Linked DNA regions of Homo sapiens: all the other regions are linked to region 4. The links are contacts of gene promoters, found by promoter capture Hi-C in blood cells and fetal thymus (Javierre and others, 2016). All regions are on one chromosome and are shown on one strand. Each heading gives the region's core, a stretch centred on a gene start or on the middle of the fragment in contact. The rest is flanking DNA. Distances are from core to core; before and after follow the strand shown.

Region 1 (3,068 bases), core at 46-2,545, 380 kb after region 4:
TTCTTTCCTTCTTTCTTTCTTTTTCTTTCTTTCTTTCTTTCTTTCATCTCTCTCTCTCTTCCCTCCTTCCCTCCCTCTCTCCCTCCCTCCCTCCCTTCCTTCCTTCCTTCTCTCTCTCTTTCTTTTTGGACAGTCTTGCTCTGTCACCCAGCCTGGAGTGCAGTGGCACAAATTCTGCTCACTGCAACCTCCACCTTCTGGATTCAAGTGATTCTTGTGCCTCAGCCTACCCAGTAGCTGGGATTACAGGTGCGTGCCACCATGCCAGGCTAATTTTTTGTATTTTAGTAGAGACGGGGTTTTGCCATGTTGCCCAGGCTGGTCTTGAACTCTGGAGCTCAGGCAAACTGCCCACCTCAGCCTCCAAAGTGCTAGGATTACAGGTGTGAGCCACAGTACCTGGCCACGAGGGCATGTCTTCAAAAAAAGAGTTTTCCAGGGGTGCAAACTCAGCTTGGGGAAACCCAGTCCTATGTGAATCTAGCTACAAATAACTCTGGGAAATGTAGTTTTTAACTGCCTAATGCAAGAAAGCAGGCCAGGCTGGGTGCGGAGGTTCACGCCTGTAATCCCAGCACTTTGGGAGGCCAAGGCAGGAGGATACTTGAGTTCCAGAGTTTGAGACCAGCCTGGGCCACATAGTGAGGCATCAGCTCTACTAAAATAAAATAAAAAAAAAATTAACTGGGGGTGGTGTCACATGCCTGTAGTCCCAGCCACTTTGGCGGCTGAGGCAGGAGGATTGCTTCAGCCCAGGAGGTTGAGGCTGCAGTGCATGATGATCTTGCCTGGGCAATAGATTAAGGCCCTGTCTCAAAAAAAAAAAAAAAAAAAAAAAAAAAAAGGTGGGCCCGCTGGGGAGTGAGTTAGAAGCTGAGTAAGCCAATCTTCAGTGGTGGTTACCAAATTACTTGGAAAGATATAATTAGTTACATAGTGGGTAAATGTCTTTAACTGTGGGAACAGTTAGAATTCACTAAAAAGATTTTTACCTGTATCATTTTCATCACTGGAATGTTAATATATAAAACCAAAGGAGTCCCTGAAGTATCTTCACTGTGTTTAAAAAATAACCAAAACCACAGGGCATGGTGGCTCACACCTGTAATCCCAGTACTTTGGGAGGCCAGAAGTTGGAGGATCACTTAAGCCCAGGTTCCAGACTAGCCTGGGCAACATAGCCAGACCCTTGGCTAGGCACAGTAGTTCACATCTGTAATCCCAGCACTTTTGAAAGCTGAGGTGGGTGGATCACTTGAGGTCAGGAGTTCGAGACCAGCCTGGCCAACATGGTGAAACCCCATCTCTACTAAAAATACAAAAATCAGCCAAGAGTGGTGGTGCATGCTTGTAATCCCAGCTACTAAGTAGGCCAAGGCAAGAGAATCGCTTGAACCCAGGAGGCAGAGCTGAGATTGAGCCACTGCACTCCAGCCTGGGCAACAGAGTGAGACTCCATCTCAAAAGAAAAAAAAAAAAGAACCCATCAAGGACGTAGATCTGTTATCAGAAATGAGTCAGGACTTCGGGCTGATAACAGAGTTAATGTGCAAACCCTTGGCCAATCAGCAAAGGCACATTGGGACTTGCAGTATGTTGGCTACATGTGAAGTTACATCCAGCCACAGTGAAGCAATCACTAAAAAAAAATCAAAAATAAAACAAAAAACAATAACTCAAAATATCACTAACAAAATGGCACTGACAGAACCTGGGGTTTTAAATCCCTACAAACACTTAGTGTGCGATTAGTTACTTTTCAACTAAGTTATATCCTGAAAGAGGCCTAAAATCAGAAAAATCAGTCTGTCCCAACCCACTTTCTCATTTTCACGGCAAATGAACTTATTTTTCTTTTCTTTTCTTTTCTTTTTTTGAGACGGAATCTTGGAGTCTTGCTCTGTTGCCCAGGCTGGAGTGCAGTGGCGCGATCTTGGCTCACTGCAAGCTCCACCTCCCAGGTTCATGCCATTCTCCTGCCTCAGCCTCCTGAGTAGCTGGGACTACAGGTGCCCGCCACCACGCCTGGCTAATTTTTTGTATTTTTAGTAGAGACGGGGTTTCACCGTATTAGCCAGGATGGTCTCGATCTCCTGACCTCGTGATCCGCCCGCCTCGGCCTCCCAAAGTGCTGGGATTACAGGTGTAAGCCACCGCGCCTGGCCTTTTTTTTCTTTTTTGAGACCGAGTCTCGCTCTGTCACCCAGTCTTGAGTGCAGAGGTGCGATCTTAACTCACTGCAGCCTCCGCCTCCCAGGTTCAAGTGATTCTCTTGCCTCATCCTCCCCAGTAGCTGGGACTACAGGCAGGCGCCACGCTGTCGCATTGGCCAGGCTGGTCTCAAACTCCTGACCTCAGGTGATCCGCCCGCCTTGTTACCCAGGCTGGAGTGCAGTGGTGTGATCTTGGGTCACTGTAGCCTCCACCTCCAGGGCTCAGGTGATCCTCCTGCCCTAGCCTCCCGAGTAGCTGGGACTACAGGCACATGCCACCACAATGGATCAAAGGAAACTTTGTGGCTACTAACTGCTCAGGAGTGACAGTGGCTTCATGTGGCAGAAGGAGCAGTGACTGTTTCTAGGGGCACCAGGAAACTTGATTGGGGAGGTGGTTACACAGGTGACTATATGTGTCAAAACTCATTGAACTATTCCATTAAAATCTGAACCCTGAGCAGGGGCTCACACCTATAATCCCAGCACTTTGGGAGGCCAAAGCAGGTGGATCACTTGAGTCCAGGAGTTTGAGAACAGCCTGGACAACATGGCGAAACCCCATCAGTACAAAATAATACAAAAATTAGGCAGGTGTGGTGGCACACTCCTGTAGTCCCAGCCACTCAGGAGGATGAGGTGGGAGGATCACTTGAATCTGGGAGGCAGAGGTTGCAGTAAGTTGAGATCATACCACTGCACTCCAGCCTGGGCGACAGAACAAGACCCTGTCTCAAAACAACAACAACAACAACAAAATCTGAACCTTTTATTTAATGGGAAAAATACCTCAATGAAATAACAATTGGGAAATAAACACATTAGTTATTTAAAACCGAAAAAAGACACACAAAT
Region 2 (3,168 bases), core at 412-2,911, 400 kb after region 4:
AGCACTTTGGGAGGCGGAGGCAGGCGCACCACCTGAGGTCAGGAGTTCAAGACCAGCCTGGCCAACATGGCAAAACCCTGTCTCTACTAAAAATACAAAAATTAGCTGGGCGTGGTGGTGGGTGCCTGTAATTCCAGCTACTCAGGAGGCTGAGGCAGGAGAATTGCTTGAACGGGAGATGGCAGTTGCAGTGACCTGAGACAGCACCATTGCACTCCAGCCTGGATGACAAGAGCAAAACTCTGTCTCAAAAAAAAAATAAATAAAAATAAAAACAAGAAATCAATGAATGATGAAATCAGCAAAAGAGTGATTTGATGAAAGCATGGTTGGGTGGACAGATGGAGAGAAGAAAATATAAATGAATGGATAACTTTCCAGCTTGAGTTGGAAAAGGGTTGGAAAAAAATAGATAATGAAGAGATGAATGGATAATTGGATAGAAAGAGATGGAAAAGTGATGAATTGCTGAATGGAGGGATGAATGGGCATATGGAGGACAAATGGATGACTGTGATGGAAAGCAGAGAATTACATGGACAAATGGAGGGATGAATAAATGAATGGATGGACGAAAGTTAGACTTCGTAAGGATGGCTGAATGAATAGACAGATAGACTGGTATATGGTTAGATGTTTGGATGGATGGAGAAGATGATGGATGATCAGATGCATGGGTGATGGATAAAAGGTTGAATGAAAGAATGGATGGATAAACAGCTGGATAGAGCTAGACAGACTGGTGAGTAGATGAATAGTTGCATGTTTGGATGAATGGGTGAACATATGGTTGACTGGATGTTTGGAGAGATTGACGATGAGATGATGAGTGCAGAGGTAAATGGATGGGTAGATGGATAAAGGGTTGGATGAAAGGATGGTTGAACAATCAGCTCAATGGATGGATTGATGAGGTCTAGATGGTTGGATGTTTGATTGATGGATGGTTGGATGGACTTTTGGTTGGATACATGGAGAGATTGATGGATGTTGGGATACACGAGTGGAGAGATGGATGCATGGATGGATGGAACGACAGGCTGTATAGTGGTTAAGTGTGCAGATCCTTGGGAGCCAGATCAGCTGGATTTGAATCCTCCTTCTGCCATTTATGCAATGTATAATTTGGGCAATTTGTTTTATTTTCCTTTGTTTCCTCATCTGTTACAGAGGGATGATAATAATTGTTTCTACCTCTTGGGGTTGCTGTGAGAAGTGAATGAGCCCTAAATCAGTGCTTGGGGCATAACCAGATTTATGATGACAGGAGGATGGATGGTCAGATGACTGGATGGATGAAGGATAGATGAAGTGCATGACTGAACCAAGGAAGGGAAGAGTAGCCGGGGAGCAGATGGAGACACACACTCATGAGACACCCTCAGACATTTTATTAGGGGCTTAGAAAGGAGTCCTAGGGGATAATTCTGTTTTCCCATGAGTTATGGCCCCAGGAATAGATTAGATCTGGACATAGGACAAGGTGACATCACCCTGGATTTCCAATGTGTCCACCCTCTGGAAGGCCGAGAGGCGATGGGCAAAGTCAAAGAGGTGCTGGCCATTGGCGTAAACCTTGAAGCGATCCAAGCCACAGCGAATGGACAGCTGCAGGGAGAAGGGTGGGCATGAGGCCAGGGCCAGGACTGAGGCCCTGGAAGGAAGTGGGAAAAGAGAGCTCAGACTCACATCAAAGAACTGTCCGGGACCAAATGGGTTGTGGGTGATCTTCTTCTCCTCGGATCCCCACGAGCCATTCAGAAGGCTGTTCCGGACCACGGTACCGTTGCCCATGCGGGGATTAATGTGCAGAGCTATGTCCCCTGAGGAGCCCACCTTGAAGTTGATAGCAAAGCTGGGGACAGAGAGGGATGGGGGAGTCAGATGGAGTCCAGTGGGAAGAGGCCAGTGGGCTGGACCTCTGAATCCCTAAAGGAGGAGGGGACAGAGGGTCTAGATTGTTGGGTCTGAGGGAGGAGGGGGCTGGGGGTTCCCACCTAGTTTACGTTATACCTCTTGCCTGTGGGAGGCACATAGCCCTTGATGATGATGGTTCTTCGAGCTGTGAGCCCTCCTTGCAGCCTCCCGAAATATGGCACAGGCTGTGGGAAGAGAACGGGGGGTCCCATTCTCTCTCAGCTTAGCAGAGCCAGATGTGGGAAGAAATTTTCTTTTTCTTTTCTTTTCTTTCCTGTCTTTTTTTCTTATAAGAGATGGGGTCTTACTCTGTCACCCAGGCTGGAGTGCAGTGGCATGATCAAGCCTCACTGCAGCCTCAAACTGCTGGGCTCAAGCAATCCTCCCATCTCAGCCTCCCGAAGTGCTGGGATTACAGGCGTGAGCCACCACGCCCAGCCTTGCAGGAACAAAGGAACAAATTTTGTTTTTTTTTTTAGGCAGAGTCTCCCTCTGACGCCCAGGCTGGAGTGTAGTGGCATAATCTCAGCTCACTGCAACCTCTGCCTCCTAGGTTCAAGCAATTCTGCTGCCTCAGCCTTCCTAGTAGCTGGGATTACAGGTGTGCGCCACCACACCTGGCTAACTTTTGTCATTTTAGTAGAGACGGGGATTCATCATGTTGACCAGGCTGATCTGGAACTCTTGACCTCAAGTGATCCACCTGCCTTGGCCTCCCAAAGGGCTGGGATTATAGGCATGAGCCACCGTGTCTGGCCAAGAATAAATTTTCTTTTTCTTTTCTTTTTCTTTTTTTTTTTTTTTTTTTTTTTTTGAGATGGAGTCTCGTTCTGTCACCAGGTTGGAGTACTGTGGCACGATCCCGGCTCACTGCAACCTCCGACTCCCTGGTTCAAGCGATTCTCCTGCCTCAGCTTCCTGAGTAGCTGGGATTACAGGCGCGCGCCACCATGCCCAGCTAATTTTTGTATTTTTAGTAGAGACAGAGTTTCACTATGCTGGCCAGGATGGTCTCGATCGATCTCCTGACCTCGTGATCTGTCCGCCTTGGCATCCCAAAGTGCTGGGATTACAGGCGTGAGCCACCATGTCCAGCCCAAGAACAAATTTTCTGAGAGGTCCCACTCCTCCTGGAAAACATCCCCAATTCCTTCTGCTCCCTAAACCTGACCACGAACTCTATCTACCCTTCCCCTACCTCCCACCCCAAAACCCTCAGCCCACTCCCTTTCTGGCTGTCTCAGATTCCCT
Region 3 (2,902 bases), core at 200-2,699, 510 kb before region 4:
ATGGCACACAGGTGCAGAGGCAGTGTTTCTATGAATTTCAAGCCATTCTGTGACCCAGAGGACAGAAAATCATGGAACTTCCAGAGACGCAGGCAGTTTGTCTCTGTGATGGCACCCACAGACTTGGGCAAGAGTATCAGATGTGTTAGGTGACAGCTGCTGAGAATGCTGGCGAGAGGCCGCAGTTGTACTTTGACCCCATCAAGCACAGCTTCTGACAGGTGCACATAGTCATCCATTCCATAGGAACAGAGCAGAGAGTTTCCTTGGCCACCAAAAATCCCTCCAGACAGCGTGGAGAGTGCCAGTACAGCGCCAAAGTGCATGAATTTTTCTAATCGAGCACAGCTGTGCTGGGAGAGCACTCTTATCACACCACTCTGGTGCCCAGAGAATATCAGTCCCTCTAGACCCCGCCCCAAGTTGAAATGCCCATAAGCCAGGCATTGTACAAAGTCCTGAGAATTTGGTGAGGTGCCTAAGAGATACTTGGCTGGGCAAGGGCAGCGGGTTGTGTCAAATACCAGAACCTCTGAGCTGCCTGTTGCTACAAAGAGCTCCTCTTTACCTGGGTCGTAGGCCCAATCCACAGCCTGGTCCAGGATTGAGAAGGGCCAGGTGATAACCAGAAGGTCCCCTGTTACTGGGGACACAAAGCGCAACAAGCCATCCTCAGTGGTACACAGGATCCGGAACCAGTTATTTCCACAGCAGACCCGACGCAACTGCTGGGGAGCAGAGCCACAGACATTGAAGAGGCTGTAGAAGCAGGGCAGGCGGTGCAAGGAAAAACTATGGGCAGTTTGGCAGAAGAAAGTAATGCTGTCAATAAACTGGAGCCGGTATAGCTCCTCACCAAGCTCTAGCCGCCGAAGCAGGCTCCCTGAAGTCAGGTTCCACTCCTTGATTAGGCTGTCACTACCAGCTGTTAGCAGGGTGTGGGCCTCTGGTCGGCTGCGGATACAGATCACTCCTGATTGATGGGCCTGGAAACTGTGGAGTGGATGGCCCTGCTGGAGGCTCCAAACTTGGATTTCCCCAGCTTGGTTTCCAGCATAGAGAAAGCCCTGATCAAAACAGGTGAAGCAGCAGGTGATGGAGGAGCCGCTGCTGGTGGACGTGAACCTCTTTACCTCTCCCAGCTGGCCCTTGCCCTGGTGCATAAGGACCCTCACCACCGTCTCACACAGGGCCAGGAGGGAGCCACTGGGACCATTCAGCACGATGTCCTGGACAAGCTCATCACCTGGCATGGAGACCATGTGGGCTATTTGGAGGCCCGTGCCACCTAGCTCAATGACCCAGGTCACCACTGCCCCCAGGATGCCAGACAGAAGCATCTTCATTTCCGGGTCATAGCAGAGGCAGCTGATGTTGAAGCGGCAGGGCACTTTACCCAGGGGTTTGAATGCCCGAAAGTGGTCCCCAAAGAGTCGCAGGATCAGGTCACCACAGTAGACCACGAGGATATGAAAGGAGCCTGCATGGACCATGGACTGGATGGGTGGCAATCGTTCAGTCATGGAGAATGTTCTTTTCTCAACCATGTCCTCAGTTTTGCTCTTCATCCATGCTACAGCCTAGAAGAGAATAAGAAGGAAACTGCCTAGGCCGGGTGAGGTGGTTCATGCCTGTAATCCCAGCACTTTGGGAGGCCGAGGCGGGTGGATCACCTGAGGTCAGGAGTTCGAGAGCAGCCTGGCCAACATGGTGAAACCCCATCTCTACTAAAAATACAAAAATTAGCTGGGTGTGGTGTCGGTGCCTGTAATCCCAGCTACTCGAGAGGCTGAGGCAGGAGAATCGCTTGAATTTGGGAGGCAAAGGCTGCAGTGAGCCAAGATTGCGCCACTGCACTCCAGCCTGCGTGACAGAGCGAGACTCTGTCTCAAAAAAAAAAAAAAAAAAAAAAGATGAAACTGCCTAGAGCTGATGGTAGGGCAGAATATTCCCTTATTTCCCCATGTTTTATGTTAAGGAGGAATTGGAGGACTCAAGTGATTTTATCCCTTGGTGATGGGAATTGGAAATACGGTAGAGGCAGGAATCCTAGGACCCTTTTCCTAACCTTGGTTTACTTCGGGGGAACCATACAACCTACTCAACATGGGGACTATAATTGGAGAAAGGATGAGGAGAGATTTCTGGTTCCAGACCACATTCATCCATGGGGAATATCCTCCTTTGTCAATCTGGGCTAACAGTTATATGGGCATGGCTCTTGGAGAATGGGCCAAGAAGGGTAAGAAAGGCAGTCTTACTTGTATTTCTTTTGTGTTTGATGTCACCCAAGAGAGGGAGGCGAAGAAGTGGGCATCACTGAAGTAATAGCATACACACGGCATATTTTGAGGATAGCGAGACTCTTTGAACAGTACCTGGGACCGGTCACTCAGCACAATCAGGCAGTTCTTTGGGTCTTCCGAAGGTTGCTGGAGAGAGGCGTGGCATAAACTAAGAGGCCAGGGCACAGAGGCACTAAATATATTCTCGCACAAGTCACAGTTGGAGCAGTTCCCAAAGTCATGCTTCCCACCCGAAGGACCTACTCCTGTTACACTCACACGTGCATAACTTATCACCTGTGGCACAGCTATACTTCACAAGCATGTAACAAATCCCCCAATGCATGAGGGAACACAACCCTGCAGAGTCTCTGTGTGCAAATTTCATAGTGTGAACACAGGGAAAAATGATGTTCTTTTCAACATGAAGTTAGCCATGCCTGCCCTCTAACATTCTTTTTTTTGTTTTGTTTTTTAGATGGAGTCTCTTTCTGTTGCCCAGGCTGGAATGCAGTAGCGTGATCTCAGCTCACTGCAACCTCTACCTCCCAGGTTCAAGCGATTCTCCTGCTTCAGCCTCTCAAGTAGCTGGGACTACAGGCACATGCCACCAGGCC
Region 4 (3,221 bases), core at 516-3,015:
GTAAGGAAGAGATTAGATCTGACACAATGTTTACTTAGCAACAGCAACAAAACAACAGCAGTAGTAACAGTGGAAATAGGTTCCGTGGTTTAAGAGTATAGAGTCTGGAATTTCATCTTCAAGCCTTGGCATCACCATGAATTCACTCTGTGACTTATCTTCTCTCAACCTTAGTTTTCTCTTCTGTAAAAGAGATAAGATACTTCGCCCAATAGTACACATTAAATGCTGTATATATATTAGTTATTCCTTATTAAGTACTCCCTATATATCTGCTAAGCACTTTTTACATATGAAACTCTAATTAATCCTCAGCAACAACTCTAAGAGGTAGGTACTATTATCCCCATTATACAGATGGGAAGCAATTTGGCAGGAACATGGAGCTGGCGAGTAACAGAATCAAGCCCTAACCCTTTGCCTGATTCCTAGGGTGTAATCTCTTAACCACTATGGTGCATTGCACCTGCTCACTCCAAGGCCTAAGAGGGAGAGGAGTGAAGGCCTAACAGGCACATCGTGATCGATGAGGAGGGCCTGGTGTGTGAGGGGTGTGCTGGGATTCCTGGGTCCCTTATGTAATTCAAACCCTGAGGTGGAAAGGAGGGAGGAAGTTTTGGATTTTAGGCAGAGTTGGGTGAACACCACTCCGTCTGGGCTGCTTTAAGAGCAGAGGACAGGGCCAGGAACACTGGCTCAAGCCTGTAATCCCAAGCTTTGGAAGGCTGAGAGGGAAGGATTGCTTGAACACTGGAGTTAGAGGCAAACCTGGGCGACATAGCTAGACCCCTCTCTACAAAACTTTATTTCTTTTTTGACACGGAGTCTTGCTCTGTCCCCAGGCTGGAGTGCAGTGGCGCGATCTTGGCTCACTGCAGTCTGTGTCTCCCGGGCTCAAGCAATTCTCCTGCCTCAGCCTCCCAAATAGTGGTGACTACAGGCGTGTGCCACCACGCCCGGCTAATTTTTGTATTTTTATTAGAGATGAGGTTTCACCATGTGCCCAGGCTGGTCTCGAACTCCTGACCTCAAGTGATCCACCCACCTCAGCCTCCCAAAGTGCTGGGATTACATGCGTGAGCCACCGTGCCCGGCCTCTACAAAACTTTAAAAAAAAAAAAAAATTGGCCGGTTGCAGTGGCTCACGCCTGTAATTCCAGCACTTTGGGAGGCCGAGGCAGGCGGATCGCTTGAACCCAGCAGTTGGAAACCAGGCTGGGCAACATGAGGAAACCTTGTCTCTACAAAAAAATTAAAAACAAATCAGCCAGGCGCGGTGGTCTGCGCCTGTGGTCCCAGCTACTAGGTGTAAGCCACCAAGGCTGACTGATTTTTAAAAATTTAGCTGGGAGGCTGAGGCGGGAGGATCTCTTGAGCCCAGAAGGTCGAGACTGCAGTGAGCCGCGATGGCGCCACTGCAGTCCAGCCTGAACGATAGAGCGAAATCTGCCTCAAAAACAAACCAACAAAACACCAGCAGAAGACAACTGAGGGAGGAAAAGGAAAATGGCACCGAAGTTGTTTTTATGTCGCCGCAACAGTGACACCCGCCGCCAGCTTGTCTTGACAGCGGAGATCCCGAACGCACTGCAATTTACAGCTCCAGGGGGCGTTCCTACAACCCCGACAGGTTAGCCGAGGGGCGGGGCGGGCGGGCCCCGGGGCGGGTTCGGCGTCCTCCTGCGCCAATGGGAGCACCCAAGCCCCTGCGCGGGAAGATGCCGATTGGTCAGTGCCGCCGGACGCTGCGGGGAGCTCGTGCGCGCGGCGCTTTTGGGGCGGAGCCTGCCACCGGCCGCCAGGGGGCGCGCCGAGACCACACTTTCATGGAGGCGGTGAAGGCGGAAGCGTGGGAGGGGGCCGCGGTGGCCCAGGACCTGCTGGCTCTGGGGTAAAAGGGTGTGCGGTGAGGCTGGTGGGTGCAGGAAGGCCAGGTCTGCCCCCTGGACGCGGACGAAAAGGGATTCCCAGTGACATCCCCGCCCCCTCCCGCTGCCTCGGTCCCCACAGGTATGGAGGTGTCCCGGGGGCGGCGTCGCGGGGCGCCTCATGCCCAGACTTCAGGGGGCTGTGCGTGCGGCTGGCGGCGGAGCTGGCGACGCTGGGCGCCCTCGAGCAGCAGCGAGAGGCGGGCGCGGAGGTGCTGAGCGCCGGCGACGGTAAACACGGAGCGGGAGGGTGGCAGGGGGGCCGCCACGGGGCCACCGAGCCCTGACACCCCTGTCCTCGCAGGCCCTGGCGCGGAGGAGGACTTTCTGCGGCAGCTCGGCAGCCTGCTGCGGGAGCTGCACTGCCCGGATCGCGCGCTCTGCGGCGGGGATGGCGCGGCTGCGCTTCGGGAACCCGGTGCCGGACTGCGCCTGCTGCGTGAGTCCCGGGATGCAGAAGTGGCAAGGCCATGGCCTCCGGAGCGGCGGGCTCTGACTTTTTAGGGGAAATCGAGGTTCCCAAGGGGTGTGGTCAGAACTTTGGGGCGGCCCAGAGGGTACGAGGTGGGTGGGGTGAGCATGTTGGGGCAAGCAGAGCGCTCTAAAATGGGCGGGGGTAGAATTTCGTTTTATTTTTTATTTATTTTATTATTATTATTTTTGAGATGGAGTTTCACTCTTGTTACCCAAGCTGGAGTGCAGTGGCGTGATCTCGGCTCACTGCAACCTCCACCTCCCAGGTTCAAGTGATTCTCTTGCCTCAGCCTCCCGAGTAGCTGGGATTACAGGCGCGCGACACCACACTCGGCTATTTTTAGTAGAAACGGGGTTTCACCATGTTAGCCAGGCAGGTCTCGAACTCCTGACCCCAGGTGATCTGTCCACCTCGGCCTCCCAAAGTGTTGGGATTACAGGCGTGAGCCCACCACGCCCGGCCCGGGGTTAGAATTTTAATTGGAGGGCCTAGGAGCTCAAGTGGGTTGGATTAGGAGGAAGGCTTGAGGTTTCAAAGTGGGCAGGAGTGGAATTCGTAGGAGGGGACAGGGTCTCAAGGTGGGGCTTACTCTGGAAGGCTTTAGGTGGGGGGGACTAGAAGGTGGAGGATTTTGTTTTGTTTTGTTTTTAAGTGGAGGTGGGGTCTCCCTATGTTGCCCTGTCTGGTCTTCAACTCCTGGCTTCAAGCGATCCTCCCACCTCAGCCTCCCAAGGTGTTGGGATTACAGGCTACAGGCATGAGCCACTGTGCCTGGGCAAAGGTGGAGGTTTTAAAGCCGGTGGAGCCTCTTTTTTTTT

The links. Contacts are between HindIII fragments. The CHiCAGO score rates a contact against its expected background, and 5 or more counts as called.
Region 1: a fragment that was not itself captured here is called in contact with the fragment with the promoter of FAM98C in region 4 in 1 of 17 cell types (neutrophils); the score reaches 5.6 in neutrophils.
Region 2: a contact is called between a fragment that was not itself captured here and the fragment with the promoter of FAM98C in region 4, in 2 of 17 cell types (non-activated CD4 T cells and activated CD4 T cells). The highest score is 5.1, in non-activated CD4 T cells.
Region 3: a fragment that was not itself captured here is called in contact with the fragment with the promoter of FAM98C in region 4 in 1 of 17 cell types (total B cells); the score reaches 6.8 in total B cells.

The regions. Positions count from the first base shown.
Region 1 is chr19:38,782,943-38,786,010 of GRCh38, forward strand. No RefSeq gene overlaps it. Among named protein-coding and RNA genes, the nearest start is that of LGALS7B, 4.7 kb to the right of the region's middle. The HindIII fragment of the contact is 5,003 bases long and covers 1-3,068 here.
Region 2 is chr19:38,800,303-38,803,470 of GRCh38, forward strand. It overlaps LGALS4 (galectin 4), which reads right to left. Exons shown (of 10, transcript NM_006149.4): 8 at 2,014-2,102; 9 at 1,690-1,855; 10 at 1,372-1,608. The coding sequence ends at 1,462. Among named protein-coding and RNA genes, the nearest start is that of LGALS4, 11 kb to the right of the region's middle. The HindIII fragment of the contact is 4,275 bases long and covers 1-3,168 here.
Region 3 is chr19:37,893,877-37,896,778 of GRCh38, forward strand. WDR87 (WD repeat domain 87) reads right to left here. Exons shown (of 6, transcript NM_001291088.2): 3 at 2,262-2,432; 4 at 1-1,580. It overlaps LOC105372395 (a long non-coding RNA gene), which reads left to right. Exons shown (of 5, transcript XR_935962.3): 5 at 2,764-2,797. Among named protein-coding and RNA genes, the nearest start is that of WDR87, 11 kb to the right of the region's middle. The HindIII fragment of the contact is 3,479 bases long and covers 1-2,902 here.
Region 4 is chr19:38,401,328-38,404,548 of GRCh38, forward strand. FAM98C (family with sequence similarity 98 member C) reads left to right here and starts at 1,766. Exons shown (of 8, transcript NM_174905.4): 1 at 1,766-1,891; 2 at 2,011-2,159; 3 at 2,233-2,367. The coding sequence starts at 1,827. RefSeq lists silencers at 1,553-1,882, 2,073-2,272. The HindIII fragment of the contact is 11,725 bases long and covers 714-3,221 here.